Linked DNA regions of Homo sapiens: all the other regions are linked to region 4. Evidence: promoter capture Hi-C in 16 types of primary human blood cells and fetal thymus (Javierre and others, 2016). All regions are on one chromosome and are shown on one strand. Each heading gives the region's core, a stretch centred on a gene start or on the middle of the fragment in contact. The rest is flanking DNA. Distances are from core to core; before and after follow the strand shown. Region 1 overlaps NCAPG (non-SMC condensin I complex subunit G). Region 2 overlaps MED28 (mediator complex subunit 28). Region 3 has its middle 47 kb from the start of MIR548I2. Region 4 holds the start of RAB28 (RAB28, member RAS oncogene family). Region 5 overlaps LAP3 (leucine aminopeptidase 3). Region 6 has its middle 11 kb from the start of LAP3. Region 7 has its middle 5.9 kb from the start of LCORL.

Region 1 (3,617 bases), core at 1,076-3,575, 4.3 Mb after region 4:
CTCCTTATATATACACCCCTTCTACAACATGCTTAGTTGTTATTCAGCATCTGCTTAAATACTTTCATTTGGGAGGCAGCCTTTTCCTGATCAGCCAATTCCAATATACAAGTGGTTCTGAAAGGAAAGTCCTTCCTTATGCTATTATTATTTATGCATTGTCTACCCAAAGGAAGAATAAAAGGATATTCCATTTTTCTGTGTTTAACTCCTACAGAGCTGAACAAGAGAAGGGTTGAGGATTTTAGGCAGAGAATTTAAGTGTCTCATCTTAAGCACCATAATTCATATTTCTGTTTTTCAAACATTATATGAGGGATAATTTACTTTCACTGTCTGTGTGCCTATTTCCCTTCCATTCAAATAATTTCATTTTGTAGTCAGATATATTGTTTTGTTTTGTTTTTTTCTAAAATTGTCTAGCAAACAGAATGTGTGCTATTTCTACCAGTATGTTTTTGCTCCATTATTCAATATATGGTGGATACTACTTGGAGTTTTATATAGAATTTTGATACTATTTGCTGATATATCAAACATATATTAAAGCATGTACTCTGAACTTACAGGTTACAGAAATTATCTCAGAGATTCGGGCGCCCATTGTTACTGTTGGTGTTAATAACGATCCAGCTGATGTAAGAAAGAAAGAACTCAAGGTAAGTCTCTTTTAAATGAAAGAAGTGCTTGAGTGTAATGTAGCTGGGCAAGTCTATTCTTTCCTCTTGCTGTGCAGTTCTGAAATGTTTCTCACATAATCAAATTATTGTTTAATTGTTAAACTATAAGAATATTTAAAATGTTACCACATATGTCAGTCTCAGAGATATGCAGATCTCTGTGTCAGGAAAACTACAAGTTTGCATATGCCTGACTCATTAAATTCTGGGCAGTTGAGATATTAAATAATACTCCTGAGTTGCTACAGATATTCATATTAACAGTTTTTGTTCAGTGTTGAAACAATTTATATCTTCCCTTAGATGGCTGAAATAAAAGTTAAGCTTATCGAAGCCAAAGAAGCTTTGGAAAATTGCATTACCTTACAGGATTTTAATCGGGCATCAGAATTAAAAGAAGAAATAAAAGCATTAGAAGATGCCAGAATAAACCTTTTGAAAGAGACAGAGCAACTTGAAATTAAAGAAGTCCACATAGAGAAGGTACAGGTAACTTTTTTCATACTAAATCTCAGGTGTTATTAATCATCTCAACTAAATCTTATTTTCTCTAACTTCTAGAATTGCCAAAATATATTTACTTTGAGCACTTTGTAATAGTGACATGAATTAAAATGAAAAAAGTTTTTCCCTGTTTCTATTTTTGGACTTTGAAAGGCCTTAATTAACTTTAATTATTGGAGGTAGGACTTTATTTGCTTCCTTGTCATGCTAATCTCTAGAATCCGAAGTCTTTCTTACCAGGGAAGCTAGCTTTCCAGTGGTTCACATCTGAGTTTTCTGTTTTTTGTCTTGAATGGTTTAAAAAAGGAAAATACATCCATTTTCCTCTTATTTGTGGAGGATCAATGACCTTTCTTTTTTATTGCTAGCAAAATAATTTCTATGGTAACGTGCATTTTTTTAAAGCTAAATTACTTTTGTGTTTTTAGAAAAAGCTACGCAGCTTTGTTATTTTTAATGAAATACTGAAATATGTCTAGTAACATTTAAAGCTTGCTTTTCAGTAGTTCGTTTTTTAAAAAATTAGTTTGTTAAAGTACTCTCTTAAATGGAGTATGTCTTTCCTTCTGAAAGAAATTTTTTGTTAATGGTATCGATACCATTCTGTCTTACAACAAATGATAAATATGTAAACATAAGATAGGTATCAATTAATATTTGATATTAACTTTAATTTCTTTTGGGATCTTGCCTTTTGTAATGAACATCATTTATTGTTGTACTTTTGGGATGTGCTGATTATTCTCATAAAAAGAATGCTAAATAGGAGACTCTTTTATATAGGAGAGTTTCATGAGTTATGTTTCTGATCTCTTTAGCCATAGACATCCCAACTCCAACACCCACCTTCCCAGAGTGTATGCCTGAATTTTATTTTGATAGCTGGTGGCTTCTTTTATTTGACGAAGTCTGTGGGCCATTATAGGCTATTAAATTTGGAAAGCAAATTTAAAGCAAAAACTGAAAATATCATCTGAAAAATGACAAACTTTAGGTCAAAATTATAAAATTAGCAAAAGTAGTCTATCATGGTTAATATCGTCTGTTTAACTTGACTTGCTTTGACCATTTATGTGTCTATTTGTCCTGTTCGAGGGCTACAAATCTGTTAAAATGCAACTACAACAGAGCATAATAAATGCTATGGTCAGGGAAGTATAGAGGTTTTATGGAGAGGTTTCTAGTGCTGGTAGAGTATTGTTGGCTTCCCCAGAGGAAGACATGTTTTATCCTGAGATTAGAATAAAAATAACAATATAATCTAACAGTCAGAGGATACTTTTTCTGTGGTAGTCACAGCATTAATTACTTCACAAATGTGAATTCATTCTTTTCTTCCTATAGGCCTATGAGGTTGGTACTATTATTATCTTCATTTTACAAAGGGCAAGTAACTTGCCCAAAATCACACAGATAGTAAATGGTGGAGGCAGGATTTAAACCCAAGAAGTGGCTCTAGACTTGTGCTTTTAACTCACTCTGTGCTGTCTCTCCTCAATGAATTATGGAAGGAATGTTGTAGACAGATGGAGCAACATCTGTGATGGTCCAGAAGTTAAAGAATGCCTATTATGTTTTAAAACTTCAGGTCCATGTGACTAGAGAATTGATGGGGAGAAGCAGGAGAAAAATCTGGGGAAAAATTAAGGGCTAGGTCATGTAAGGCTTTGCGTAAGCAATATTAAAAATTTTGTATTCTAAGGATTGTGGTGAACCACTAGTATTTTAAGTGGTTAGGTAAGTCTTATGTCTCAGATCACTGTTGTTTAGGAAATGGATTGGAGAGTAGTAAAAGCTTAGACAGGCATAATAGTTGGGAGACTTACAGTAGGGTTGGGAGACTTACAGATGATGGTAGTCTGAACAAGATAATGACAGTGGATTTGGAAAGTAGTGATGAACTTGAGAGGTATTTAGAAATTAGTAACGGAGAAAAGGGAGTCAGGAATGTATCTTAAGTCTTTTGGTTTAGACAACTGGGTAGATGGTGATGACAGTATGAAGATAGAGAACAAGGAAGAGGAGAGATTTGTGTAATGATGAGTTCCCTTTTGGACATGTTGAGTTTGAGGAAACTGTGGAACATCAAGAGGAAATGTCTTTTAGCAGTTATATATATGAATCTGAAACTTAGAAAATAGCTGGGCTAGCTCATAGATGATAAACGAGGTTGTCAGGTTTTTTTTTTTTTGAGGTGATAATTAGGCAAGATGAAGATTAGACTTTTTTTTTTTTTTTTTTGAGACAACGTCTCCCTCTGTTGCCCAGGCTGGAGTGCAGTGGCATGATCTCAGCTCACTGCAACCTCCACCTCCCGTGTTCAAGCCATTCTCGTGCCTCGGCCTCCCAAGTAGCTGGGACCACAGGTGTGCACCACCACACTAATTTTTGTGTTTTTAGTAGAGATGAAGTTTTGCCATGTTGACCAGGCTG
Region 2 (3,672 bases), core at 1,109-3,608, 4.1 Mb after region 4:
ATTTTCTTTGGAACTTTTCCTGTTTCCTTCCTTGTGTTCTGTGTGGACCTCAATTTTCACAGCCTCCAGTGGCACATAGCAGCACCTACTTACCTGCTTCTCATTCCTATTGGGGTGCCACTCCTTGAGGTCTCTGTCTGCTCATTCTAGCTGCTTAGCACATGCTCTTTGATGGAAGGAATTTATTGAGCTCATGCACTCTTGATTTTGGAGGGAACGTTGGAGACCATCTAGTTCCATTTCCTCCATTCATAGGTAGAGAAACTGAGGCTCAGTGAGGGCAAGTTACTTGCTGAAAGCCAGCCGTTGGGTTTGTGGAAATGAGGACAAGCACTTACTTTCCAGGCAAAGGCTCTGTTTTAGCCATGCTTTTAAAAAGCTGTTCTCTTTCTAGGCAGATGCGGTGGCTCACGCCTGTAATCCCAGCACTTTGGGAGGCCAAGGTGGCTGGATCACTTGAGGTCACGAGTTCGAGACCATCCTGGGCAACATGGTGAAACCCCATCTCTAACTAAAAATACAAAAATTAGTGGTCTCTGGTGGCACACGCCTTAATCCCAGCTACTTGGGAGGCTGAGGCAGGAGAATCGCTGAAACCCGGGAGGCAGAGGTTGCATTGAGCCAAGATCGTGCCACTGACTCTAGCCTGGGCAATAGAGTGAGACTCCATCTCAAAAAAAAAATATATGTTCTCTTTCTAAGCTACCACACATTTTCTTCTTAATACAGCTGTCCAACTGTCTATAAAGGCCTGTGTATCTTTTTTTTTTCTTTTCTTTTCTTTTTTTTTTTTTTTTGAGACAGAGTCTCACTCTGTCACCCAGGCCAGAGTGCAATGGCACGATGTTGGGTCACTGCAACCTCCACTTCCTGGGCTCAAGTGGTCCTCTTGCCTCAGCCTTCCAAGTGGCTGGGACTACAGGTGCGCACCACTACGCCTGACTAATTTTTGTTTTTGTAGAGACAGGGTTTCACCACGTTGCCCATGCTGGTCTTGAACTCCTGGACTGAAGTGATCCACCCATCTTGGCCTCCAAAATTGTTGCTTACAGGCGTCAGCCACCATGTCGGACCCTAAATTTTTTTCTTGAGTGGGTGGAGGGCAGTAAAATTCTTGAGATGAGATTTCCTGCCACCCTGTCTGGTAGGCCTCCTGGCTCAGGGGAGCTGGCCCAACTTTTTTGGCCAGTTTGTGACTGGTTGGCCTATTAATGGGATGTTTTCCAGTAGCCATAGGTCTCACAAAGGAAGTACATCCTACCCACATCCCAAACCCAACAAGAGTCAACTTTCGTTTTTTTTGAGACAGATTCTCGCCCTGTCACCCAGGCTGGAGTGCAGTGGTGCAGTCTTGGCTCACTGCAACCTCTGCCTCCCAGGTTCAAGCAATTCTCCTGCCTCAGCCTCCCGAGTAGCTGGGACTACAGGCACGTGCCACCATGCCCAGCTAATTTTTTGTATTTTTATTAGAGATGGGGCTTCACCGTGTTAGTTAGGATGGTGACTTCGTGGATCTGCCTTCCTAGTTAGGATCCTGACTTCGTGATCTGCCTGCGTGGGCCTCCCAAAAGTGTTGGGATTACAGGCGTGAGCCACCGTGCCCAGCCAGGAGTCAATGTTCAAAGTAATCCTGAGAATGGGCAATCTGTTTTTCTGATTTACTTTCTCTGTAAATCAAGCGCGGGAGCTGCAGGCAGGCAGAATTTTTGCTCGTTAAAGGGCCCTCACATGTAGGTAATGTTCTAAATTTGAGCTCAGATCTGTCTGCCTCACACCAAGTGTAGTTTGCTGATTGCTGACAGAGCTCCACTTTCCTGTGTTTGAGGCTTCTTTTCTAACTCCTTTTCCAACTGCCATGCTGTTCTCTTTCTGTGCCTCCCCAATCTCCCTGCCCACTTCCTGCAGTGGGCCTGCTTTGGTACATTTCCTTAGAGTTGCTTGTGCACAGAGCTCCTTGGCTGATTCACATTTGCATCTGTATAGGTGCCCTTTAGAGATAACTCTCTCTGGGACTTGATTATCCATGTGATACCAACCTTGTCCTCTTAGGCCATCCAGTCAGTAATATGTGTTATTAAACACTTCCCTTGTGCCAAGGCAGTGTTCCAGGCACTAGGAGGACAGTGGTGAATAAGACAGACAAAATTCTCATCTACTAGTAGGGGACAGATAATAATGGATGAAAATAATGGATATGATGTCAGTTAATTATGTGAAAAACAATAAAACTGTGCTTGGGTGTGGAGCATGAGCAGGAGGGGCACAGTTTAGAAAGGGTAGACCGGCTGCTGTCTCTGAGGGGGAGAAGATTGTCCTGAGTCCTGAATGGGTGGTGATGTGAGTTGTGTAAGCACCAGCAAGAGGCCACAGTGGGGCTGGAAGAGTGTCTGGGCCTGGTGTGGAATAAGATACAGGGAAGGGGCATGTAGTAGGACAGAGACCAGATGTGGTGCCGGCTCGTTTGCCTGGCGCTTCCTCCATGGGCCTAATTAATTGGTAAACTCAGTTTACCAGATGTTTCCATTGGCATGGTGTCTTGCCATCTCATATGCAAACACAGATGCTGCCACCTCATCAGATGACTTCAGGAGAAGTTATTTCTTCCTCTGGAGTAAGATTTTTGATGTATAAATGATATTTTTTTCTTTCCTATGTTTTGATTACACAGGCTTGCTTTGCATCTCTGGTGAGTCAGGACTATGTCAATGGCACCGATCAGGAAGAAATTCGAACCGGTAAGCATTCCCTCTGTGTACACAATGTTCTGGGCTTCAGCAGTATTTCCTAGTTGCTAATTTTATACTTCATGTGTTTCAGTCCTGCTTTTATCCTAAGACAACATTTCAGGGACTAAAATGTGTGCACATAATCTCTATGAGCTGCTGATTTTTGGTTCAGTTTATTAATTGACATATCACCCATAACGAATCATTTATAATGAACTTTTCGTATTCGTACTAGGTAAAGAAGAAGACCAATAGTGTGTACTGCTTTTTAAAAAAATTTTATTATTTTTGGAATAGGTCTTACAGAGAAAAGTCTCTTGTGCTTCTTTTTATTCCCCAAGTTCTGTCCCTAAAGGTAACCAGAGCTTCTGATTTCTTCGTACCATATTTTACATGTTTTTTTTTTTTTTTGATGGAGTTTCACTCTTGTCGCCCAGGCTGGAGTGCTCACTGCAACCACCACCTCATGGGTTCAGGCAGTTCTCTTGTCTCAGCCTCCCGCGTAGATGGAACTACAGGCATGCACTACCATACTCAGCTAATTTTATATTTTTAGTAGAGACGGGGTTTCGCCATGTTGGCCAGGCTGGTGTCGAACTCCTGATCTCTGGTGATCCATCTGTCTCAGCCTCCCAAAGTATCGGGATTACAGGCGTGAGCCACCGTGCCCGGCCTTATATGTGCCATTTTAACTGTAAATTATGATGCTGATTGCTGGATCTCTGCATTGTCTCTTTTTTTTTTTTTTTTTTTTTGGAGACAGAGTTCTTGCTCTCTCACCCTTTTAAGAAAGGAGTGCAGTGGCATGATCTCTGCTCACTGCAACCTCTGCCTCCTGGGCTGAAGCAGTCCTCCCATTTCAGCCCCCCAGTAGCTGGGACCACAGTGTGAGCCACCACATTTGGCTAATTTTTGTTTTTTTATTTTTTTGTGGAGATGGGATCTT
Region 3 (3,716 bases), core at 1,021-3,520, 3.9 Mb before region 4:
TAGCACCATGAAAGTTGTAAGTATTTAGATTGTCGTACCCCACGTCCAAGTGATTAGACCTCCTCTAAAGTAAACCAGTAGTAAGTTCAAAACAGCCACCCTGCAGATTTCCTTGCTCACCTCTTTTGTCATTCTGTAACTTTTCCTGTGCCCTTAAATAGAACACTGTGTAAAGAAACGTAAGCCCGTACTGCTTTACTTCGCTTAGATTCTTACTCTGTTCCTCTGTGGCTACTCTCCCATCTTGAAAATGATCTGAGTAGTCCTTTTCTGCCTCATCCCTGCCCCCTACCCCACTCATCTCATTTTCCAGTGCGACAAGAAGTTCAGCATCTCCAGGACTTGGCTCTGCTCTCACTCCTTAAACCCTTAAAAGAAAAAGCTACGTTTAAGCTATTTGCCTTTAAGTCATAAAGACACCAAAAGTATTTAAGGTACAGATCTAGAAGAAGAAGAAGAAGAACGCCTAGATCAAACTGACCTAGAAGATCTCAGGCTGTCTCTAGTCCTCCTCCCTCAATATTAAAGCTACAGTAGTGTAGCAAGTAGTATTAGCTGTTGTAGTTTTTCTGCTCTTTCTAGTGATGTTGATTCTGTTCTTTCAATACTCCATTCCGCCAAGAAATAAGTTTCTCTGTCCATGCTAAGTTTAATATCTATGCTCAAATCTTATTAAATTGCCTTCAAAAAAAAATAAACACTTCCTCCCAGCCTTGTAAAATTTAAAGCCCTCTCCAATGTGTGCTGCAGAATTTTCCTTTCAGTTTCTCAGAGGATTATAAAGACCGCCTTAAAAAAGGCAAGCTCCAGACACTCTGCAAAATAAAATGGCCAAAGTGTAAAGTCAAGTGGCCCCCTGAAGGGTCATTGAACCTCACAAGCTGTGTGGCAGGTTGTTACTAAAAATCCTAGCTACCCTGATCAGTTTCCCTACATTGATCAATAGCTAAGTTTGGTCAGGAGCCCCCTCCATGGCTCCGCTCATGCGCCATTCATAATTCTACCTCCAAGTTCCGCCTGAGCCAGACCGCGTTTTTGCCTCGATCCTCAGCCGGTTCGGCTTCCCCCGTACTGCCTCCCTCTGAAGAAGAGGAGAGTCTCCCTCACCCAGTCCCACTGCCTTACAACCATCCTGCTCCCTTAATGTTATCCCATGTCTCCTCGGGGACGTCCCCTGTAGGCTCGCCACCCATTGCCTCTCAATCGCGACCGCGGCAGGAAGAAGTAGCCCCTCTACTACCACTGAGAGAGTCACAAGTCCCTCCAGGTGACGAGCGCTCAGCCCCCTTCTTAGTTTATGACCCTTTTTCTTCTTCTGTCTTATATAATTAGAAAACCCATAATCCTCCCTTCTCTGAAAAGCCCCAGGCTTTGACCTCTCTGATAGAGTCCGTACTCCGGACTCACCCGCCCACGTAAGATGATTGTCAACAGCTCCTTTTAACCCTTTTCACCTCTGAAAAGAAAGAACGTATCCGAAAAGAAGCCAAAAAGTACTTCCTCACATCAGCCAATAGACTGGAAGAAGAAGCTAGAGACCTCCTTGAGGAGGTCTTTCCGTCTACCCGGCCCAACTGGTACCCAAATTCCTCAAGTAGAAAGAGAGCTTCAGACGATTTTCACCGGTATCTCCTCGCGAGTATTAAAAGAGCCGCTCAGAAACCCATAAACTTGTCTAAGATGACCGAAGTTGTCCAAAGGCCCGATAAGTCACCAAGAACGTTTTTAGAGCGCCTCCAGGAGGCTTATCGGATTTACACCCCTTTTGATCCGGCAGCTCTAGAAAATAGCCGTGCTCTTAATTTAGCATTTGTGGCTCAGGCAGCCCCGGATATTAAAAAGAAACTCCAAAAACTAGAAAGATTTGCTAGAATAAATATCTGTCAGCTTTTAGAAATAGCCCAAAAAGCTTTTGACAATCACAAGGTTAAAAAAACAAAAACAAGCAACACAGGCAGCTGAAAAGGCCGCTGATAAAGCATTCAAAAGACAAACAAAAATCTTAGTGGCGGCTATCCAAGAAGTACAGAATGAAATAGCCCGTTAATTTAGCATTAACTGAAGCCCCTGCTTTAGCCCTCCCTAATATCTCCATAAAAGCCAAGGAGTTGCTAAAGACGTGTTTACTCAGACTCTAAGACCCTAAAGACGCCCAGTGGCCTATTTATCTAAGAGGCTAGATCCTGTGGCCTCTAGATGGCCAAGTTGTCTGCGAGCCATAGCGGCTACAGCAAGCCTAGTCCAAGAAGATGGTAAGTTAACTGTAAGCCAAAATTTAACCCTTACAGCTCTTCAAGCCATAAAGACCTTACTACGAAGTGCTTCTGGCAAATAGATGTCAAATGCTCGCATCTTACAGTATCAAAGTTTACTGTTAGATCAGCCTCGTTTGACTTTCTCTCCCACAAAGTGTTTCAATCCAGCTACACTACTTCCCGACTCAGACTGCACTATTCCTGCTCATGACTGTCAAGAACTGTTAGAAACTATCGAAACTGGCCAATCTGATCTTCAAGCTGTGCCCCTAGAAAAGGCAGATGCCGCCGTGTTCACAGAAGTAGCAGCTTCCTCAAGCAGGAAGTAGGAAAAGCCAGTGCAGTTGTTACCATGGAGACAGATGTGTTGTAAGCTCAAGCTTTACCAGCGAACACCTCAGCACAAAAGGCTGAATTGATCGCCCTCACTCAGGCTCTCCGATAAAGAGTAAACGTATTAACATTTACACTGACAGCAAGTACGCCTTTGCTACTGTGCATGTACATAAAGCCATCTACCAGGAAAGCAGGCTACTCACCTCAGCAGCTAGCTGTGATCCACTGCAAAGGACATCAAAAAGAAAACACGGCCGTAGCCCATAGTAACCAGAAAGCTGATTCAGCAGCTCAGGTCGCAGCAAGACTTTCAGTCACGCCTCTAAACTTGCTGCCCACAGTCTCCTTTCCACAGCCAGATCTGCCTGACAATCCCGTATACTCAACAACAACAAAAAAACTGGCTTCAGATCTCAGAGCCAATACAAATCAGGAAAGTTAGTAGATTCTTCCTGACTCTAGAATCTTCACACCCTGAACTCTTAAAGAAACTTTAATCAGCCACCTACAGTCTACCACCCACTTAAAAAGAGCAAAGCTACCTCAGCTCCTCCGGAGCCATTTTAAGATCCCCCGTCTTCAAAGCCTAACAGATTAAGCAGCTCTCAAGTGCACAACCTGCGCCCACGTAAAAGCCAAACAAAGTCCTAAACCCAGCCCAGGCCACTGTCTCTGAAAAAACTCGTCAAGAAAAAAGTAAGAAATTGACTTTACAGAAGTCAAACCATACCAGGTTAAGGACAAATACCTTCTAGTACTAGTAGACACCTTCTCCAGATCGACTAAGGCATTTGCTACCGAAAACGAAACCACCAACACAGTAGTTAAGTTTTTACTCAATGAAATCATCCCTCAATATAGGCTGCCTGCTGCCATAAAGTCTGATAATAGAGCAGCCTTCACCTCACCTATAGCTCAGTCAGTCAGTAAGGCGTTAAACATTCAATAGAAACTCCATTGTGCCTATCAACCTCAGAGCTCCAGGCAAGTAGAACGCATGAACCACACATTAAAAACACTCTTACAATATTGATCTTAAAAACCAGTGTAAATTAAGTAAGTCTCCTTCCTTTAGCCCTACTTAAAGTAAAGTGCACCCCTTATCAGGCTAAGTTCTCACCCTTT
Region 4 (3,590 bases), core at 753-3,252:
ACAATAAATACTGTTAGAAAAATGAACAACAGTTTAAAGAATTATGATAGCATATAGGATAACCAGCAATTTTTGTGTCTTTTTACAAATGTATTGTTATGAGTTGTCATTATCATTTTAAATGGGAAATAAGATCAGTTATGAATTGAATACAGTAAAATTTAAGAGCCAAAACCTTAGACGGCCTTCAAAAGAAAATCTAAATGATGAGAAAACTATAAAAATCTAACAAACTTTTTATTGAATAAAGGTGTTAGAAACAATGATTTATTTATAGCAATTCATTCATTCGAAAAGTTTACTAAGTATACAAAAATTAATATACTTTATAAAGAAAAGTTACCCCAAGTTCCTTTCTTCCCCCAACGTTTAAAGGTAATCAGAGCATATTGTTTTCCTCAGCTTTAAAAATCTGTAACAAAGGATCCAAGAAGACAAGAAAGAAACAAAAAAATACTTCAAATTTTGCATATAAAATTTTACATCTTTCCCAGGTGACCTCGAAACTCAAATGTCAGAACCAAAGGCAGAAGCAGGTATCTGGGCAGTGCCAACTGTCAGGGAGGATGCAAAGAGAAGTCGTCACCAGAGAAACCAGGGTCCGAAATGCAACCAGCAACAGGGAAATGTGAAGCCTTAAACAGGAAATAAAAGCCTGGGTTTCTTTAGACTATGGTTGGGATAAGGAAGGGGAGTACAGGGGTGATAAACTTTAGCAATATTCCCAGAAAGTGTTGGCGCCTTTGACAGAAGCATGGGAAAGAAGGCATCCGGGTAGAGGCTCTTCACTATTTGCTGGTGGAGGGATCATAGACCCCTCTGAGATCTTATGGACCCTCTCCCCAGAGCACGTACCGGGCAGTATTTACTCCATTTCAGGAGTTCCACAGCCTTGGGGTAGGAGCCCCTGCCTAGGAGATAATAAGACTGACGCTGCCTGATATTCTCACGCCCGCATTCATTCATTCGAACAGGGGATCCCTTTTGTCACGCAAGCAGCTCTACCCTCAGCATCCTACCCGTAACAGGAGCTCCATAAACACTTGTTGACTGACTGCTTGTATCGAGTGCTGAGCTGGAAACAGAGGTGATGAACAGGTATGATATTAAAATAGCAACTAGAGTGTACTGAGTGGACACTGTGCTCTAAAGGTTTTATGTGTATTTTCACATTTAATATGTATTTTCACATTTCTCCCTTTGCGGCGGCCCTTTTCAATACCCATCTTACAGATGAAGCTTAAACTGATTAGCAATTTGCCCTCCAATGACCCGACGACTAAGTGGCAGAGCCCCAATTCTCACCCGGGGAATACTGATTCCAGAGCTACGCTCCTGGGAGCTCACGATGCAGTAGAAGCATCAGAAACGGTAAAGGGGGTGGGAGGGGAGGAGTAAGTGTGACCCAGACTACAAGTAAGAGGAGCTAAGATGCCTTGGCAAATCCCTGCCAGTCCTGAGAGGCGGGAAGCTGAAAGGCTGGCCCGAGTCTTGCAGGAGTTCGCAATCCAGGCGGGGAGTTAGGAAGTGACTCTTTTTTAAGGGGGAGCTGGACAGCTCTCGTCGGCCTTCACCAAGCGCCCACTTCGTGTCCGGCCTCAGGCCACACAACCAGAAGGGCCCGGGCCTAGAAGCCCGAGGGCTCGGGGTAACGAGGCGACGCCGGGCGGCGGGGAGGAGGCCGGGGACCGCCGGGGTTCCTGCAGGCCTGGGACGGCGGGCCTGCTCGAGGACTGACCTTCCCGGAGGCGCCGTCCCCCAGCACGACGATTTTCAGTTGCCGGTCCTGGCTCTCCTCCTCAGAGTCCGACATGGTGTCCCGGGAACCAGGCCCGCCCCTCGAGGTGGGGGGGGAAGGGAAGGATGAAGGCTCCGGGGGCGGGGGAGAGGAGGAAGGGAGGTAGTTGCGGCAGGACCCCCGCCCCGGTGTCTCCGCGCCGGCAGGAGGTATTCGAGGAGAATCACTCGGCAAGCGCCATCTTGCCCACCTCCCCGCCCTCTGCGCGCGGCCCCGCCCCCTACGCGCACGTCGGGCGCGCGCCCCCGCCTCAGAGCCAACCCGCGCCGACCGGCGGCCCCGCCTGACGAGCCGAACCACTCGCGGCCCTGGACTGGTGTGGGGGACATTCCGGCGGGAGAGGCGAGGCGCTGCGTTTCCCTTCAGGAGACAGTTGGCTAGAAGAAGAAAAGAAGTGTTCGTTCAAATTAAGGAGAGAAAACGGGAGCAGAGCAGCTTTCAGGCGTTCCATCAAATTCCCTTTTCTCCTTCCCTCTTGAGAAAGTCTCTGAAGGGAATGGTTCAGCCTGACGGGGTGGAGCAGTGACGCCCGGGCTACGCGCCAGGGTTGCCTGGCAGCCAGGAGTTCGAGGACCGGCGGCGGGGCGGGGCCTGTCTCCGGGCACCCGGGACGCCCGTAGCCTGGCGGAGAGCGCCAGAGAGGGCCCCTGAAAAACCGGACCAGGGAAGAGGGTACCTCGGGGCGGATGAGGGGACAGCTGCTAAGGGCCGAGGCTGCTGGGAAGCCTCAGTAGCGGCCGTGAATACAGTGGAGCTCCGGCGCTGCTTATTTCGGCCTAACTCTTGGTTTCCTCATCTGAACAACCCCAGGCTCCCATGGTTCGTTCATCAGACGCTACTGATCGCCAACCTCCTGGCACCCCATCTTTACCCTAAGGCAGCAGTTCTCATAAAGTGTGGTCTAGGGACCTCTGGAAATCCCGATGACCTCAGAACAATTTTCATAATAATACGGACACCTTGTCTGTCTTTCTCACGTTCCTTCTCTCACTAGTATACCGTTTCCTGGAGGATACGCTTTGTGTACGACGTCATCACTGGCAGCTAAGGGAGCTTGCGTTTGTTGTTTTTAAACATTTCTCAGTTTTCATTTCAATGCAGTAGTGATAGGTGTAACCCACATAAACATAAGCTCTTTGGAGGTCACAGTAATTCTTTAACATTATAGAGAGGCCCTGAGTCCAAAAAATTTAAGAACTGCTGCCCTGGATAATCTCAGTCCAGGAGCGTTAGGTAAACGGCATAAATGAAATTTACAATTTAGTGAGGTAAATTCAAAAATAATAATGCTGTCCTGCTATGGTTGTTTCATTGTTAATCACTTAAAATTTATTGTTACCTTTACTACTATTAGGAATTATGAAGTATAATTATCCCCATTTTGCAGATGAAGTATCTTAAGTTAACAAAATGCTTAGCCCAGAGGCAGTAGTCTTGGAGACCATATGGGCATTAGAACAGGAAAGCAGAACAGTGTAAAGAAATGCCCAGACCTAGAGGCATCACTGGAGTTTAATCTCATGTTTACTAGATATGTGTCCTCGAGCCTCAGTTAGTTCACCTGTAGAACAGACTACTGCCTTTGTGTAGGTTTGAAAATTAAATGAAATAATCGGCATAAAGTAGATAGCACAATGCCTGGTGTGTAGTAAGCACTCAATATTAACCAGTGTAACTATCACCCTCATCATCATCATAATTAGATGATGGTCCGTGTTGGAAGTGTCACTACTTTCTAGCCAATTTACCTTATACAAGTTTCTTATGTAGAGCCTCAGTCTCTTCATCTGCA
Region 5 (3,498 bases), core at 221-2,720, 4.1 Mb after region 4:
CACAGCATGCCTAACTAGACATGGGATGAGAATTTCTGCCTCATAGATTCCCTTAGCCTAGACTCCAGCATTGGTGCTCCCAGGTGTCCCTGAATGCTGTGTCAGTGGGAGGCTGTTGGAGCTGAAAGCCTGCTCGTCCAGTTCCGTCGCTCTCTTGGGATCTCCAGCCCTTTAAGCAAACCAACTCTGAGCATTTGGGAATTTATAATTAAAACAAATGAACAGGTATTTGTTTGACCTAAAGAATTCTTTATTGTCAAAGTTGTTTCCCAAGGGTACTTCCATTTAAAAGAATTCTTTAGTACTTAATTGTGATTAGAGTTCGTGTTTTTCAGGAAAGCATCTATGGTTTAGACAGAGTGAAGAAAAATTAATAGTCTGTAGAAAGCACAGTACTTAGAGCTTGATAAAATTTCTGGAATGGTTAGTATATGTTTAATCTATAGCAATGTTTAGGTTCTATAAAAGTATCTTTTTGGTCACCAAATAGTGGTTATGACAGCCCCTCTGGTGTGCCTGGAATTTATCATACAAAGATGCATGAAGTGGTCCTTGTCCTTGCAGAAAGTGAGGATGTTGTAAGAAGGAATAGGGAGGTAAATGGCATTTGCAGAGGGTACTGCAGGATCAGAGGGATGAGGGGGACTGCCAAAGAATATGAAGCTGCTGGTGCGATTGTGCACACCTCTATTTGCAGCTACTCAAGAGGCAGGCAGGAGGGTCTGTCAAGTCCAGAAGTTCAAGGCCAGCCTAGGGAACATAGCAAGACCCATCTCTAAAATAAAAATTTTAATAAGAATATGGAGTCTAGGCCAGGCATGGTGGCTCATGACTGTAATCCCAGCACTTTGGGAGGCTGAGGCAGGTGGATCACTTGAGGTCAGGAATTCAAGACCAGCCTGGCCAACATGGCGAAACACCATCTCTACTAAAAGTACAAAACTTAGCTGGGAGTGGTGGTGCGTGCCTGTGATCCCAGCTACTCGGGAAGCTGAGGCACAAGAATTGCTTGAATCTGGGAGATGGAGGTTGCAGTGAGCTGAGATCGCACCGCTGCACTCCAGCCTGGGCGACAGAGAGACACTGTGTCTCAAAAAAAGACTGGAGCCTAAGGAGAGTCCTGCAGGTTGCTTAGAAGTTACAGTACAAGAGAGTGGGGCAGGACAGTTCAGGTGAGGAAGCTGCAAAACTTGTAGCCGAGCAAAGGGAAAAGAGTTCAGCAGAGACCAGGCAGGACGCATGGGTGGGGTATGACTCGTTAAACTGAGACATAGCCGCGCTAAGCACTCTCCATTGTAGGTCAGTGTATATCAGAGAAACACAGGCAGTTCTTCCACAAGGGCAGGACTTTAATCAGACATCAAGTACTGAGTTAATGATTTAAAATGCCCACATTGCACAGCCTTGTTGTTGTTGTTTTTTTTTTTTTTTTGAAGTGATTTTTAAAACTGTTTCATCTTCCGATTTAAAATTTTTTTCCCTTTGAAGTGTGCTGGTCATCCCACCATGATGCAGTCCTAGTTTAATCATTTTAACAAGTGGATGGCAAATGCCGGAGGAGCATTCCTTGGCTGTGGTTGTTGCTGGTCTGCAGGAGGATAGAATTTCTTTCTTGGCCTAGTTACCGTGGCCAGAAATCAATACAAAGCCCTTTTGTGCTCCTAGCCTAGAAAGAAGAGCAATATGGCATCAGTTTTCTAGTTTGAACTAAGGACTGTTTCCATTCTGTTACCCCACCGATCCCATGTTTATTAAGTAAGAACTAACTAGTTTTCTCACTTAAAGATGCCTCAAGCAACAGTTGAAACTGTGAGAAACAGTGTGTGACAACATTAAAAAGATAGAATTCAACAGTTCTTAAAAAGCAAATAAATAGGATATTTTTTTTCCAGTCATTGGGATATAGCTTTGGTTTGCTGTCTGTTGGTTGATTTTTTTTTTTTTTCATTTTTAGAAATAAAGCAATGGACCCCTTACCTATCTTTAAGCACTCTTTGTGGTCTCAGAGCCTATTGCTAATTTTATTTTTTTAAGAGACAGGGTGTTGCTATGTTGCCCAGGTTGGGTGCTGTGGCGAGATCGTGGCTCACTGCAGCCTTGACCTCTAGGGCTCAAGCGAGCCTCTTGTCTTAGCCTCTGCAGTAGCTAGGACAATAGGCAGGCACCAACATGCCTGGCTAATTTTTTCTTTTTTTTTTTTCTGTAGAGACCAAGTCTCAACTTGTTGCCTAGGCTGGTCTCAAATTTCTATCCTCAAGTGATCCTCCTTCATTGGCCTCTAATTTCATCTTTATTATATCTTACCTTATTTGTTTTAGAGACAGTTTCACTTTTTTGCCCAGGCTGGTTTCAAACTCCTGAGCTGAAGCAATTCTCTCACCTCAGCCTTCCAAAGTGCTGGGATTACAGGCATGAGCCACCGCACCCGGCCTTCTAACTTCATCTTTAAATTAAAATTGTAGAAATATCTGAGTAGATTGGAGAGAGGAAATTAATTATATAGACTGTAGACTATTAGTTGACATTGTATTAGGTACCACACATGACTTCTCTTAGTAATTCAATAATCTTTTGATGGAAGAATTACAGACCTCATTTTATAGATGAGGAAATAGGCTTAGAATCAAGTGACTTGCCCAAGAATATACAGAAAGCAAATAATGGGACCTGATAATTGAAACCTTAATGTGCGTATACTTTAAGAGTTTGTATATTATACTTTTTCACACACTGTGATGAGCTTTTTCTGTTATTTTGAAATAAAGGTAACAGTATATTTACTTTTTCCCTCTTTCTACCCTATAGACCCAAGTCTTGGATTGAGGAACAGGCAATGGGATCATTCCTCAGTGTGGCCAAAGGATCTGACGAGCCCCCAGTCTTCTTGGAAATTCACTACAAAGGCAGCCCCAATGCAAACGAACCACCCCTGGTGTTTGTTGGGAAAGGAATTACCTTTGACAGGTATTTTTTATGGTGTCCGTGCTTTGTATTTTGGTGAATTATTTGTGTGCAGTTTAATTACTTGGTTATAGGGTTTTTTGGTTTGATTTTTTTTTTTTTTTGAGGCAGAGTCTCACCCTGTCACCCAGGCTAGAGTGCAGTGGCGTGATCTCGGCTCACTGCAGCCTCTGCCTCCCAGGCTCAAGCAATCCTTGTGCCTCAGCCTCCCAAGTAGCTGGGATTACAGGCGTGCACCACCACACCCAGCTAATTTTTGCATTTTTAGTGGAGATGGGGTTTTGCCGTGTTGGCCAGGCTGGTTTTGAACTCTTGGCCTCAAGTGATCCGCCCACCTCAGCCTCCCAAAATGCTGGGATTACAGACATGAGCCACTGTGCCTGGCCGGTTTATAGTTTGATACAAAAGCATGGTGTTTGGTTGAAGGTATACATTACTTTAAATTTATTATGCTACCACCTCTAAAATGCTTAGAATATGTCAGAGACTATCAGGTATTTTGCATGTGTTAGCCCTAACCATACCCCTGTGGGCTAG
Region 6 (3,444 bases), core at 652-3,151, 4.1 Mb after region 4:
AAGGTCTGGCTCAAGCAACAAGGGCAATGGGTGCCCTGAGAGGTAGTAGCCTCAGTACTGGAACAGACAGCCTGGGTTGTCATATCTGGGCAGCTGATACTCCAAGTAATAGAAAAGAGCACCTCCGACCACAGGAAGCGTGAGAAGTGGGTGCCTAATCTTTCCTCCTCTTGTTTCTTCACAGTACATGGATTGAGAACATATCAGCGAAGATCATCCCAGCAGTAGCAGCAGTGAAAGACCGGAAGCGTTGCCAGGTCTTCCACTTGAGTATTGTGAGCCTATTCCTCCAGATTAATAGTTCACATGTGGCCTATTGCAAATGTGACAGGGGTCCCAGTGGCCATCAGTGGGTTCTGATCAGACAGTGCCACCCTCAGTCTGGGTTCAGATACACAGAATACATAATATACCCCATGAACGAAGCTTACCTTAACCATAGGTATAAAATAAGAGGTGGACTTTATTTTTATTTTTTTATTTTTTGAAACACAGTTTCACTCTGTCGCCCAAGCTGGAGTGCAGTGGCACAATCTCAGCTCGCTGCCACCTCTGCCTCCCGGGTTCAAGCGGTTCTCGTGCCTCAGCCTCCCAAGGAGCTGGGATTACAGGCACACACCACATTGCCCAGCTAATTTTTGTATTTTTAGTAGAGACAGGGGTTTCACCATGTTTGCCAGGCTGGTCTTGAACTCCTGACCTCAAGTGATCTGCCTGCCTCGGCCTCCCAAAGTGCTGGAATTACAGGCATGAGCCACCACACCCTACCTGACTTTCTTTTTTAAAAATAGATTTCAGAGTTAGGTTTAATTCTATGCTCACTAAAACATCCCAGCTGTTTTCAGAAACATGAAAAGTCCTAAGTTGCAGTGTGACTTTTCTTGGTGTCCATCCTGAGGGCTTAGTCTGTTCCAGATCTTTCCTCCTCTTGTTTCTTCACAGTACATGGATTGAGAACGTATCAGCGAAGATCATCCCAGCAGTAGCAGCAGTGAAAGACTGGAAGCGTTGCCAGGTCTTCTGCTTGAGTATTGTGAGCCTATCCCTCCAGATTAATAGTTCACATGTGGCCTATTGCAAATGTGACAGGGGTCCCAGTGGCCATCAGTGGGAGCCACACCACCAGACATCAGACGGGTTTGTGGAGGGTTGCTTTAATTAATCACCCTCCTTAAACTTGTCATTAACATAATGCACCCAGTCCAGAATCAGTTGCCAGTCAGACCTACAGCAGCCCCACCATGCCCACGGCACCCCTACATGCCTACCATGGGAATCCAGTTCTTGGCTAGCTCCTGGTAGCATGAACCCAGGAAACCTCACTCAGCATCGCTGCACCATCCACACCCTTAGGGTGAACCTGTCTGCCAGCCTGGCCACAATCCAGTGGTATCCTGCCACCTGAACCATGGTTAAACCAGACACACATTTTGTACAATTGGACTAGAGACTCTTAGAAAAACTGCTTCTTGGCCAGAGTTAAATATGTGCTCTCTTGGGTTACATATTCCTCTGTGGGGTGTAGTAGCTTGCAGAGTGCCTGTCCTCCTTAGATGGGGAATGTTGTTTGAGAATTTGGGGTCCTTCAGTGTTTGTGCAAGATGACACTCCAAATTGGAAGGGCCACATACTTCTGGCACATCACAGGGTTGCCTGAGTCAATTTGCCAGGAAAACAAACATGCCTGGTTCCACTCTGCTGCCCATGTCCTCATACACAGTATAGGCACACAGGTCCTGGATAAAGATGATACACATCTTGTCATTGACTGTGTGGAGATAGCGAATGCTACTGCCTGTGCTATTAAGGACCAGCGGGATGCATTAAACTCACTAGCCAAGGTGGTGATGGACAACGAAAGTTCTCAATTATCTGCTGGCAAAATGGGATGGCATTTGCATGACTGCCAACACCTCTTGCTGGGTATAAATCAATAATTTAGGCAAGGTAGAAAGTGAGCTAGAGAAGATTCCTGCTGAAGCGGGGTGCTGGTCAGCTATGCACACGCAGTGCCACCAAGACTCATTCTTTCACCTCTTTAGCACACTCAATCCTGGCCCTTGGGGGCTCCTGGTTGAGGACCATCCTCCAAGGACTGATCGTCCTATGGGTCTGGTTCTCCTAGTCACCCTGATGAAGGGCTGCCTCGAAATGACAAGGAGTCTCTACAAACAGACTGCATCCATATCAGTGGTTCACACCACTAAACCCATTTCTCCCTCTAGATTTAGGGTGGGCAATGATCCTACTGGATTTGATGTGCTTTATCTGCTGTTTCAGTGGCTAAGTGAGGGTCAGGGGTGGACCGTTGGGAAAGGAAGACTCAGGTATGAAGTCTTTTTATACCCCCTCCTCCGTGGACATGGCCACATAAGAATTGGCCATGGGCCCGGAACATGTCTTTACTAAGAGCCCACACAGCCTGGGCCAGGCTTGTTGCTTTGTGCGGGAAAACCTTTCCCTGTTTCAGGCTCAAGGTGTTCAGTGTGTGCATCAACGACCTTCAGACACGCTCCCCAGCTCTCAGTGTTTCAGACTCTGTGGTGGTGGGGGTGGGTGTAGGTAGTCGGGGCAGGGGTGTGTGTCAAAGGGTCATGCTGCTACAGCACAAGAGAGGTGCAAGGAGGCCAATTGCCCTGTGTCTGCTGCAGGGGGACCCATTGGCCATGGGAGACCAACTCTGACTATTGAAACTGCTTCTGCTCTGTCTCTTCTGTATGTGAGTAAATCATTGTTCCGTCCCATTCTTGACTGCACTTGAACTTCTGCTCCTGATAATAGGTGTCAACCGTAGATAATGAGATTCAGAAAATATGACTGAATATAGAGCTTATTTGAATGCAAATCTTGAGGATAGCCACCTGGGAAACACAGACTCCAAACGAATAGGGTCAGCATTCCAAAGTGGAGAAGTTAAGGTTTCACTTACATAGGCAGACAGAGAAGTTTCAGCAGGATTACATTTTTGATACAAGACCAGCACATATGTTATAATGATTTGCTACAATGATTTGTTACAGTGATTTGGTTACAGATTGCTACATGGCAAGAAAGATTACTGTGTTAACCCCTTAGGAATGATAATGATCTGAGGGTGTCTTCTCTCTGGTCCCGCTTGTTCTTCCTAATTACTTACAGGGAAAAAAATGCAGAAGATGCAGCTAAATGCCATGTGACTAAGGCCACATAGCCACATTCCTCTCAAGGCTCAGAATAATTTAAAATTCAAACAGCTTTAAGTTTGAATTATCTACTTTCACATAGGCAATAGTGCCACTTGCTCAACACTAAATATGGTAGAGCAGAGAGAAAGAAGCCCGAGCCTCTGATAACTTTGTGGAGCCACGGTATCATCTTTGGCTGTCTCTTCCAGCCAATAAGCTTAAGCCTCTGTTTAAGAATTTCTTTTTCTTTTTCTTTTCTTTTTTCTTTTTTTTTTGAGAC
Region 7 (3,625 bases), core at 603-3,102, 4.5 Mb after region 4:
GAACATAAAAATAGGAGTCTAACTGATTAACCATTACATTCTAAGTATCAAGTGCTGGGCCAGGCACTAATATGGTGTCTAATATTTATTTATTGGTTTGATACATGTTTGAGTTATCTATAAGTTCAAGTATAAAAAGAGGGCCATATCAGCCAGGAGCAGTGGCTCACGCCTGTAACCCCAGAACTTTGGGAGGCCGAGGTGGGTGGATCACCTGAGGTCAGGAGTTCGAGACCAGCCTGGCCAACATGGTGAAACCCCATCTCTACTAAAAATACAAAAATTGGCTGGGCGTGGTGGTGGGCACCTGTAATCCCAGCTACTTAGGAGGCTGAGGTGAGAGAATCGCTTGAACCAGAGAGGCGGAGGTTACAGTGAGCCAAGACGGTACCATTGTACTCCAGCCTGGACAACAAGAGCAAAACCCCGTCTCAAAAAAAAAAAAAAAAAAAAAGAGGGTCATATCAAAAATTGTCTCCTACACTGAAAATCCAGTTACTCACAAAGGATTTTCATATAACAACAGGTATATGATATGAAATGTTAATGTTCTTTGGAAAAATAATTTTGTTCTACTATCTACTTCCTATATATGTTGTACCAGTTATTTATTGCTGTGCAGCAAGCCAATCCGTAGGGTAGTTGCATAAAGAACAACCAGTAGATAATATTCACAAGTCTGCAGGTCAGGTGGGCTGTTCTGCTGATCAGGTGAAGCTCTGCACATCTTACCTGAGATTGCTAGTCCTGGAAGCTGCGTGATCTAGAATGGCCTCACTCTTGGTGTGTAGTTTGGCTCCCAGTTTGCTGGGGTAATGAGAATGACTGAGTCATGTGTCTCTTACCATCTAGAGACTAGCTAGAGCCAATAATTTATGTAGTAGCAGCATGTGAAGCGCAACATAATGATAAGTACTAATGTAGAAGTGCTTTTCAAGTCAGCTTGCATCATGTTCTGCTTGCTACTATCCTATTGGCCAAAGCAAATCTCATGGTCAAGCCCAAAGTCTGAATATAAGGACACTAACGAATGGCATGGATTCAGAAAGGTGTGAACAAATCTGAGTCATCACTTCAAACTACCATAAATAACTATCCAAGTTCACTATTATCCACCTAAAACTGATGAGCACATCTACAGAGTTCTTAGACAGCACCAAGACATATAAATTGCAGGGCCAAATAACAGTTTATTAATTTATTTACCACTTAGTCAATTGCAAGCTAGGGTGCTTTTTAGGAGGACATGATATAACAAATACTAATACATTGGAGTAGTTTGAAATACATTTCCATGATAGAGAAATACAAAATTACAGAGGGGTATGACTAGAGTCATATTTTTGAGATATTAACCCAAAATTAAAGCTATTCTTATATTTTGTAACAAATATAAACAATCCAATATACTAGTAGGATTGTAAAATACCTACTCAATTCTATATTATCCGTATGTACCAAAAAACGATATATTTTATAATTTAATAAAATCTAAACAATTTTGTATGCATTAGATATTTACAGTTGTAAAGCGTAACTACTAGATACCTTAATTAACTGTACAATGCTTTATAATGCTGAGAAACTATCTTTTGAGTAAATTATATCTGTCTTGTAAAGAATCGCATTTTACTGTATTTCCTTTGGTTCTGACCTGTAATACAGTTCACCGATCTAAGATTAAAACATCAGAGAAAAATTTGATAAACCAATTATTTAGGACATAGAACAAACTTCCCTTCCAAAAAATTTCTAATTAACTACATAGTCATATTATACTAAACTTTATGCAAACATCTTAGATTCATCCAGGCTCATGAGTCAAAGATTTCTCAATAGTCTTCTCCCTTATGGAAGTATAGACTCTAAAGACATCATTAACTGAAATACATACATGTTAATGTATTTATTTTCAATACTGCAGTTAAATAGTTAGAGATATCTAAAATATATGATGATTTTGTCTTCTTGATGCATTTCCAAATACTATCAACACTTTTTGTACATTTTGTAGGAACAAAGATAAAATTTTACAACAGGAATAATGATTGAAAAAACAGAAATATAGTGATAATGTACTTCATTTCTTAGATTATAATGTCTCCTTTTTTCCTATTCTAAGACTCCTTAGTATACATAATAATGGGCATGATAGCTGGTCCAATTCTGTCACTCATATCAGAGTGGCATCTCAGATTTTTGTTCTTTACTTTCTTTGTTGAGTTCAATCACTGGATACTTTAAAAATATTACTGTTACATCCTGTTACTGTCTTTATAGTAAATATCACATAGTTGGACATAAGTTTTACTATATTAGGACAACTCAGGCCCTAAACTGTCAGGATAATTAATACCAAAATTAGCATGAGTATGTTTTCTGATTTTTTTTTACATAAAATCATACACCTTTGAGCTTGGCACCTGAATTTAATACCATTTACCATCTACTTTCTCTTACATCCAGACATGATGATAGGACCTGATCTACCACTATTCTTTCTGTGTCCACTTGAAATCACTTCCCTGGCCTAACGCATTATTGTCACTTTCATTTTCAGCCTTTTAATAAAATTTCAATGTATTAAAGGCTCAATGAAGGCAATTTTATCCAATTTAATCCAATTGCACAGTTCAGTATCAAAGTAAAATAAGAATGTCATCTATAGTACCTAGACTATCAGAGTTTAGAGGGAATACAGATCATCTAGGTCAACCCCCTAATTTTGCAGATAGGGAAATTGGGCCCAGAGAGGATGAGCAATTTATGTAAGTCACAGGGCTTATTAGTAGCACATCCAAACTAAAGATCAATTTCTTGATTCCTAATGTTGACTCTTTTTCCTATAATAAGAGCTATCAGTGGTTTGGCATTTATACACATTATTAATTCATTTACCTTTTACCATAATCTTATGCAATTAAGTACTCTCATTATTATTATCCCCATATCAGAGAGAAAGAAATATAAATTGACTTAGAGATGTTAAATAACTTAAACAAGTTAGCATCATCTAGCTAGTTGCTGATGAAACTAGAATTTTAATCTTTGTCTTTCCAAATTTAACTACTGCTTTTCACTGGAGAACAGGAAAGAAGGTGAAAAGCTGCCTATTAAGGAGTCAGAAATTGAGGAAGCTGGATTTTTTTCTGATTTTCAGGAGTGGCTACTGATAATGTCACTATCTTTGGGGGAAGATAGATAGTGACATTTTCAGTAGCACACAAAATTATGGTCTCTCAATATTTAACCTATCATTCAGCCAAACTGGGGTTTTTGCTGTCCCCATCTGATATTCCATGCGATTCTACTCCCATAAAGAACACTTCTCAACTGAGTGGTGATTATTACTGCTTTCTATGCTCTTAGAACACTTCATTTTTCTCATGAGTCTTACCGCATTTTTTCATGTAATATAATTATCTGTGACTATTTCTTATTGTTTCTCTCTATAACCTTGTAGACTGTGAAGTCAGAGCCTGGTATTCACCACCTCTGTATACTTGCATTCTACACCTAGTTGGTATCAAAGAGACTTTTGTTGAATTGAAATAAAAGAGTAATTAATTGAGATTTTTTAAAGAAAGAAACATGGAAGATTATAGGGCTTCCTTCACCCATGATC

The links. Contacts are between HindIII fragments. The CHiCAGO score rates a contact against its expected background, and 5 or more counts as called.
Region 1: a contact is called between a fragment that was not itself captured here and the fragment with the promoter of RAB28 in region 4, in 1 of 17 cell types (naive CD8 T cells). The highest score is 8.6, in naive CD8 T cells.
Region 2: a fragment that was not itself captured here is called in contact with the fragment with the promoter of RAB28 in region 4 in 8 of 17 cell types (non-activated CD4 T cells, naive CD4 T cells, fetal thymus and 5 more); the score reaches 15.9 in non-activated CD4 T cells.
Region 3: a fragment that was not itself captured here is called in contact with the fragment with the promoter of RAB28 in region 4 in 1 of 17 cell types (fetal thymus); the score reaches 6.1 in fetal thymus.
Region 5: a contact is called between a fragment that was not itself captured here and the fragment with the promoter of RAB28 in region 4, in 8 of 17 cell types (naive CD8 T cells, total CD4 T cells, activated CD4 T cells and 5 more). The highest score is 12.6, in naive CD8 T cells.
Region 6: a fragment that was not itself captured here is called in contact with the fragment with the promoter of RAB28 in region 4 in 3 of 17 cell types (total CD4 T cells, total CD8 T cells and activated CD4 T cells); the score reaches 9.7 in total CD4 T cells.
Region 7: a fragment that was not itself captured here is called in contact with the fragment with the promoter of RAB28 in region 4 in 7 of 17 cell types (total CD4 T cells, total CD8 T cells, non-activated CD4 T cells and 4 more); the score reaches 21.1 in total CD4 T cells.

The regions. Positions count from the first base shown.
Region 1 is chr4:17,824,399-17,828,015 of GRCh38, forward strand. NCAPG (non-SMC condensin I complex subunit G) reads left to right here. Exons shown (of 21, transcript NM_022346.5): 10 at 570-659; 11 at 984-1,163. Among named protein-coding and RNA genes, the nearest start is that of NCAPG, 15 kb to the left of the region's middle. The HindIII fragment of the contact is 1,304 bases long and covers 1,674-2,977 here.
Region 2 is chr4:17,617,233-17,620,904 of GRCh38, forward strand. MED28 (mediator complex subunit 28) reads left to right here. Exons shown (of 4, transcript NM_025205.5): 2 at 2,669-2,735. Among named protein-coding and RNA genes, the nearest start is that of MED28, 4.4 kb to the left of the region's middle. The HindIII fragment of the contact is 5,213 bases long and covers 1-3,672 here.
Region 3 is chr4:9,601,533-9,605,248 of GRCh38, forward strand. No RefSeq gene overlaps it. Among named protein-coding and RNA genes, the nearest start is that of MIR548I2, 47 kb to the left of the region's middle. RefSeq lists an enhancer at 626-1,144. The HindIII fragment of the contact is 726 bases long and covers 1,908-2,633 here.
Region 4 is chr4:13,482,338-13,485,927 of GRCh38, forward strand. RAB28 (RAB28, member RAS oncogene family) reads right to left here and starts at 2,003. Exons shown (of 7, transcript NM_001017979.3): 1 at 1,739-2,003. The coding sequence starts at 1,813. It overlaps LOC105374495 (a long non-coding RNA gene), which reads left to right and starts at 2,112. Exons shown (of 3, transcript XR_925413.1): 1 at 2,112-2,617. RefSeq lists silencers at 1,535-2,154, 2,148-2,442, 2,405-2,464 and enhancers at 1,888-2,182, 1,978-2,885, 2,145-2,264. The HindIII fragment of the contact is 2,971 bases long and covers 1,238-3,590 here.
Region 5 is chr4:17,586,014-17,589,511 of GRCh38, forward strand. It overlaps LAP3 (leucine aminopeptidase 3), which reads left to right. Exons shown (of 13, transcript NM_015907.3): 7 at 2,806-2,964. It overlaps MED28-DT (MED28 divergent transcript), which reads right to left. Exons shown (of 3, transcript NR_186331.1): 3 at 229-1,666. Among named protein-coding and RNA genes, the nearest start is that of LAP3, 11 kb to the left of the region's middle. The HindIII fragment of the contact is 8,649 bases long and covers 1-3,498 here.
Region 6 is chr4:17,564,351-17,567,794 of GRCh38, forward strand. No RefSeq gene overlaps it. Among named protein-coding and RNA genes, the nearest start is that of LAP3, 11 kb to the right of the region's middle. The HindIII fragment of the contact is 2,955 bases long and covers 425-3,379 here.
Region 7 is chr4:18,025,831-18,029,455 of GRCh38, forward strand. No RefSeq gene overlaps it. Among named protein-coding and RNA genes, the nearest start is that of LCORL, 5.9 kb to the left of the region's middle. The HindIII fragment of the contact is 7,330 bases long and covers 1-3,625 here.